Linked DNA regions of Homo sapiens: region 2 is linked to region 1. The links are contacts of gene promoters, found by promoter capture Hi-C in blood cells and fetal thymus (Javierre and others, 2016). All regions are on one chromosome and are shown on one strand. Each heading gives the region's core, a stretch centred on a gene start or on the middle of the fragment in contact. The rest is flanking DNA. Distances are from core to core; before and after follow the strand shown.

The links. Contacts are between HindIII fragments. The CHiCAGO score rates a contact against its expected background, and 5 or more counts as called.
Region 2: a fragment that was not itself captured here is called in contact with the fragment with the promoter of MIR302CHG in region 1 in 1 of 17 cell types (neutrophils); the score reaches 6.7 in neutrophils.

The regions. Positions count from the first base shown.
Region 1 is chr4:112,648,720-112,652,083 of GRCh38, reverse strand. It overlaps MIR302CHG (miR-302/367 cluster host gene), which reads left to right and starts at 2,033. Exons shown (of 3, transcript NR_146092.1): 1 at 2,033-2,092. LARP7 (La ribonucleoprotein 7, transcriptional regulator) reads right to left here. Exons shown (of 13, transcript NM_016648.4): 9 at 2,398-2,549; 10 at 1,502-1,623. RefSeq lists an enhancer at 2,491-3,213. The HindIII fragment of the contact is 6,288 bases long and covers 1-3,364 here.
Region 2 is chr4:112,434,371-112,437,898 of GRCh38, reverse strand. ALPK1 (alpha kinase 1) reads right to left here. Exons shown (of 16, transcript NM_025144.4): 12 at 2,598-2,751. Among named protein-coding and RNA genes, the nearest start is that of NEUROG2-AS1, 79 kb to the left of the region's middle. The HindIII fragment of the contact is 6,124 bases long and covers 1-3,528 here.

The sequences.
Region 1 (3,364 bases), core at 784-3,283:
GGACTAGATCTTAACTCATCCCAACACTCAGCAACTATCACAAAACAGGCATTTAGTAACTGTTTGCCAAATTAAAAAAAAAAAAACTGCAGAGACTTACACTTGCTAGTCCTTCCCACTTCTTTACCTAGTTAATTAGTACCAAATTTAGATATAAAGCAAGTAAAAAACTCAGTATTGTTGAAATTTGAATGCATTCAGTAGTAGTAATGAGTTTTATAACTGACTTTTGAGCATATTCAATTACTACAACTCAAAAGATATATACTAAATATCCATTATAATGTCAGGCTAATCTCTTGATTTAAAACCCTTAGAATTTAAAACCCATAGAATGACAAATTAGCCTGGTAATCACATGGGCAAGTCACAGACAGTTGTAACCAACACAGCTCAGTTTTTGTTTCAGCAAAATGTAAGTAACTACTAACTGGATTAATGCAGGGATTGATTTTATGATTTTGATGATCATAAATGATGAATTTGTAATTGATAAAGTTACCCTTTAAATAACAGAAGTTATTTAATGAGTTGATTAGAAATAACTCTGAGCAATTTTTGTATTAAATGTTTTGCAATCTGATTAATCAGAGCAGTATTTACATCCCTCAATTTTCAGCTGTCTCCTGAAATGCAAGCTGGTAATAGCAATTTGGATTTGGCCAAATCCTTCACCAACATTGCAAAGAGGATCAAAATTTGTTTCTTAGTGACAGCTATAGGATTGTAGGACAGTATTTCAGATAAGGAGGGCTTACAGATAAACAAACCACCACCTCAATGGTATTCAAGTTAAAACCTGTGACTGATGAGTCTACGTAAAACCAAAACAACATACTAAGTGATGATGAATGTCAGTATAAGAAAATACTTAAAATATGTGGTATGTTACAGAGCATTTCACACTTTTTAAAAAGAAAAGGATTCACTTAAATGGGTGACAGGCAGGGTAAGGGTAAATAAGATATGGTACTCTCACCTAAAAGTATATAATTTCCCTAATAGAAAGTATTGCTACCAATGTGGTATAAAAGGCTACAGAAGATAGACTGTATAAAGCGAAAAAATTATAAACCTGTATGTACAGCAATTTGTAGCGTAAATTATATAGAAGTATGGGTTTTTTGGCACATGCGTGAAAAATTTTAAGAGGTTTTCAAAAATATTTTACTTTTCTATAATTAAAATTTTAAAGATAATCAGCACATAGGTAATACAAAAAAAATCAGTGCCAATAAAAATAAGCAAAAGTTACAATTTTCCTATAGAGAAGGATGTTTAAACTGTGCTTACATATAGATTTAGTGAGGAATTTCAGCCTCTAGATTTTGCTTCAAAATTAAACCTAAGAGTTACCATGGAATTAAAACTGTACAGTAGTTTACCATAGGGAAACAAATTCTAACTTGATTTGTTTTATCTTCCATATTCAAAACATTTTCACACAGGGAAATAATAAGAGAAGAAAGGAACAAATACCCTAGGGGCTCAAAATCATTACCCGGACTTGTTTCCTGCCAGGTAGAGGCTCTGTGCTAATGATCTTCACAATCACTCCACTCACGAACTGTGGTCCTGTTGCATTAACTTTCTCCTGGGTGCGACACTCTTCCCTGTTGGCTGCTGATTAGAAAAGGAAAAAGACCAGGACTAAATCTCTTACACTTAACAACAATTTAATACTTAGGAGGACTACCTTAGAATAATTCCTGAGGCAGATTTAAATAATTTAAAACGTATTTAATTTTAAAGTAAACAATTAAAGGTTATATGTCATACTGCTTATTTCAAAATACCATGAATAAAACTCAGAAAGTTTTATTATTCTACATGCAAATTGTTACTGCTAGAAGAGCATTCGTAAAGCCTTTAAATTTGCCCCTTCTCCCTGAACAAAGGAACAGTAAATTTTTACTCAATAAAGTTAAAAAAAAGTTAAAGGATACTGTGTTTTAAATACATTATTATTCAAACGTGAACATTTATTTTTACAAGAAATGAGAATTTAAAATGTATCCTAATTTTGAATTCATAGGAATTCTGCTTTAACTTGTTCCTGCTTGTGGTGCATACTACAGAATGAAATTAACAGGTGAGAAACTACAATCTTCATTCCTACAAACTTGCTCAGTCTGCAAACTCTGCACTCATGTGCTTGATGAAAACTGTAGAGAAAACTCAGGTTATTTAAAAAATTGTTTTAAATGAGCCTTTTAAATATTCTTATATCAAGAGTAAGTAACACATCTGGATAACTTAACAAATCAAGAATTGTTCTAATAATGAAATAGAATAATCAAGTTTTTTAAAATTAAAATTTATCTTATAACAACTCAGAGATAGCATTTACATATATAAGTACATTATAATGTTGTCAAAACTATCAGTGATCTTTACTTTTTTCATTTTTCATTCCAGTGTTTTGAGGTACTCCACTGTCTGTTTCCATTTCTGACTCTGATTTTATTTGGGATATTGTTTTTTTTAAAGAAGCCATGCTAGCTTTTTGTAGCGCTAAATACTCTTTTTTCAAATCCATCCATTCGCTCCTACAAGGAAAGAAATGGTGATAACAGATGACTAAATATAAAAAGTAAATAGGGAAATATCTAAATATATACATTCACAATGACTTGGAGCAACTCCTCCACCAACTTTCCTGTTTCTTTAAACACATATTCAAAATATTTCCTAGGTTCTAAAGACATTTAGCAAAATAAGCTAAGGGAGTTCCTCTTCCCCCAATATTCAGATTAAATGTTTTAAGATTGCCAATTAAATTTTTGAGTGTCTGAAGTATTTTAATTTATAAAAGTAAAATTTTAGCATTAATTCCTTAACTAGTAACATTTACTAAATCAGTCATCTCTGTGGGAAAAGGGCGAGATTAAAGATTTGTTAAACTGCTTCCAATTTGAGAGATAACATTCCTTAGTATTTACTTGAATCAAAAAGAATTTCTAAGTAGAACAAAACACCCCGTGGAAGCAATCTATTTATTTACATACATTTAACATGTAGATGCTTCTTCAAACAGAGTTCCTCCAGATAGAAACACAATGCCTTTCTCGGCTCAGTGGGAGCACTCATTGTTACCCTAATCTATGCCATCAAACAAGCAGATAGGAGATTTTCTTTTTCTTTTTCTTTTTTTTTTTTAAGAGGAAGATATCTTGTGGTAATGGTTTTAGCTGTTAACATTGACATCTGTATACTTCAAAAAAAAAAAAAAGGATCCAGACCCACCCAGGATCATACATTCCCTGAGAGCTGATACATTAAAATAACAAAAGGCCCTTGTAATGATTCTCTGAGATAAAAAGGCAAAAGGAATTCAAGAGTTAAGAATAGTATAAATAGAAGT
Region 2 (3,528 bases), core at 814-3,313, 210 kb after region 1:
CAGTGCTGCACTTTACTGTAGTTTATACTTGCTGTAAACTGGTGTGAATTTGTGAGTAATTTCACATGTGCCCAGAGTGACCACCAAAAATCAAGGGGAATTGTTTGAGTCATAGACTTCAACCAGAGTAAACTCTCTCCAGAAATTTCTGAATCCCATATAATAATGGAACTTAAGGAGGCTGTGGTTTTGGCCATTCAGACTCCTGAAGACCAGAAAGGAAATCTGATAGTGGAGGCTGCAGTATGGCCTCAGAAGGCAGCCTGCAGAGGAGCAGTTGTTGTAATAGGGATGCCATACCAGTGCTTTAGGCAGTTCTTCTATGGAGAGACCGCAAGACCTATAGAGGGTTTGAACTAATTCAGAATTTTGTTGACTGATACCAGAGGTGTGCACAAGAGAGTGAACCTGTGAGTACTGGCTACTGGAGCATTTCCTGAACATTCTGCCAGAAGACCTCCAGTCTTAGGCAGGGGATCATCAATCTGAGAACAGAAGTCCATATCTTCTCTCATCTTGTACCATTTTTTTTCTGGGATCATTTTTCTTTAGTGAGGATTTGTTCATGGTAAACTGCCATGGTCATTTTTCCTTTTAAGCTGCAAATGTCTTTATTTTGTCTTCCTCCATAAAAGAGAGTTGCACTAAGTATATGACTTCCATTGTCTCTGAATTCCATTGTTGCTATGAAGAAACCAGCTGTAGGTCAAATTGACATTTCTATGTACGTAATCTGTCTATTTTCTTTGACTGCTTTTAAAATGGTTTCTTTGTCCTTAGTGTTTGGAGTTTGACTACTGTGTACCTAGTCAAACTAGGTACACAGGATGTCTGACTACCTGCCTTCCAGCTTCTTTCCTCCTTTCCCTTCTGTCCTTAGGATTCACTGTGATTTCTGTATTTCAAGATTAGTGTATTTTGGCAATTCTGAAAAATTACCAGAAAGTATCTATTCAAATATTGTTTTTGCTCTCTTGCTGTTATTTTCTTCTGATCAGAAATATATTGAACTCTGCCACTCCATTCTCTATGTCTCTTATTCTCAATTTATTCTCATCTCAGGTCCTCCTATGGTATACTCTGGTGTATCAGGGCTGCTGTCACAACATGCCATAAACTGGGTGGCGTAAATAACAGAAATTGATTTTCTCACAGTTCTGAAGCCTATAGTAGTCCAAGATCAAAGTTCCAATGGGGCCATCATCCTGCTGAAGGCTCTAAGGAAGAATCTGTTTCAGGCTGTCTCCCAGCTTCTGGCAGTTCTCTGCTATGAGGCAACATAACTACAATCTTCACATGGCATTCTCTCTGCGTCTTTGTCTATCTCCAAATTTCCTCTTTTCATAAGGATATCAGTCATATTGGATCAGGGGCCCACCCTACTCCAGTATGACTTCATCTTAACTTCACCAATTACATCTGCAATCCCTCTACTTCCAAGTAAGATCGTAGTCTGAAGTACTGAGAACTTCAATATATGAGTTTTGGGAGACACAAGTGAAGCATCAGCACATGCCCCTACTGCTTAGACATGTGATTTCAGGCAATTCCTTAACATCTCTGTGACTCAGTTCCCTCATCTGTAAAGTGAGAATAATAATAGTATCTACCCTCAGAGGGTTTTGTGAAGATTAATTGAATTAGCATATAAATCATTTAAAACAGGACCTGGCATATGTTTACTAAAATAATAATAATAATCAATAATCTTTTCAAGAAATGTACTTCCACTGCTTACAGAGACACTTGATTTCTCTATTTCTATTTATTTCTTACACTATTTGGATTTGAGCAAATAACAAGGCCAACTTTAAATGAAAAGTCATGGCTTATAGGTCTTTTAAAATATACAAATGATAAAAAATTATGTCTTAAATCCAATGAAGACCACCTGTGGTTACTAATTTTTCAGGTGAGTTTTTGTTTAAAATTTTTATTAAGAACTAAGGCCAAAGCAAAAACTTTCCAGGCATTTACTTCACTGGGGTGGGGTTTTCAAAGATACCCTTTATCGTGGGGATGTAGCCATTCCTGAGTCTTTGCTTGTATGAGTGGTATCTGAACTCATTCCCTTCTGGGTGTAGCTTTTGCTACGGGCTGCACCCTCACTCCACCCCTGCCTCAAACGCCTATGCGGGATCCCTAAAGGGTTCAGCAATCACTTATATCCCTGAACAGGCTTCATCCCTGGACTCAGGATTTTCCTGCCTTTTTTCAGGCTCACCTATTTACTTAAAAGTGTGCTTTTCATAATTTACCTTTTTTTGCCAGCATTTTTAGTGAATATTGAAGGCTCTCTGGCCTGTCATGTGGCCAGGAACTTTATTTTTCTTATCAGTACAGTATGGCCAATGTTTCCCTGATGGTTTTGAGGTCCTGTAGCTAAAACATCCAGCAAAACAGCTGATGTAACGTGGGTCCTCAATATATAGTAACTGTTGTTAATTAATTAATAATGAAAAGAAAAAGGAGTAGAAATCTGGAAATATATTTTGGCCAAGTTTTTCAGCCCCTACGAAGTCTCATGAGTGATTACTTAACAGAAGAGCAAGGTTAGCTCATCTTACATTAGTTATACAAATGTTTTTAAGTAATACCTCCCCAGAATTTCTTCTTGATGAAGATGATGAACCCAAAAAGCATTTCTTTGTCTGCCTTTTTTCTTCACAGTCAAGTAGTCCCCCAAATAGACAATAGTTTCCTGGGCCGTCCACAGTTCAGATTTTTTTGAATATTTTAACAAAAGAGCACCTGGGAAAAAAAAAGATGAAAATGAATCTTATTTTCAAAAGGACGTTACAATTCATGAATAAAGCTGATGTGACACAGGTCCTACGCCAGCTCACCTGAAATCTTCACTTTTTTATACACTTTTCTCTAATTTTCATCTCTTCTATGACAACTACAGTATTAAAAAGTTAGTGAGAAATAATAAAAAAGTAACACTTTATAAATTACAATGAGGAATAGCCTTTGAGTCACAAAATCCCTTAGTTGTGATGAAAAGGGATTAAGATAAGCATGAAGATTCTATATGAAAGTAGTGGAAAATAAAGGAATTTTAAAATCAGAAAACCCCAGAGACCATTTTGGGACAAGTGACACATGCTTGCAACTTACTATTATTACCTGGGGATCCCAAATAACAGAAGCTACTACTGATGGCAGCTCTGGGAATCCTAGCATTATATATTCAAGTGCACCCTAATTTTCTCTTCATTGTTTTAAGTTGAGAAAGTTTGGAAATTATTTGAGAAAATGTAGCTGCTGTAAAAACATGCGAACTCAACTGAAAAAAGGAAAACATAAGAGGAAAAAGTAGGGGCAGTCTCCACCTTATAGAAAGGAAGAACAGTGCTAAGCAAGAAAGCATCTCTTTGAGGAGAAACACCCACATGAATCCTAAGGAAGGAGTGCAACACTTTGGTTGAAATTAAAATGAAGTGAACAAAGACTTTTGTCTAGATTGTGAAAATAGATAAATGAATGGGATACGTGGGAGAGAAAATACTTAAAGCAAGATAAACT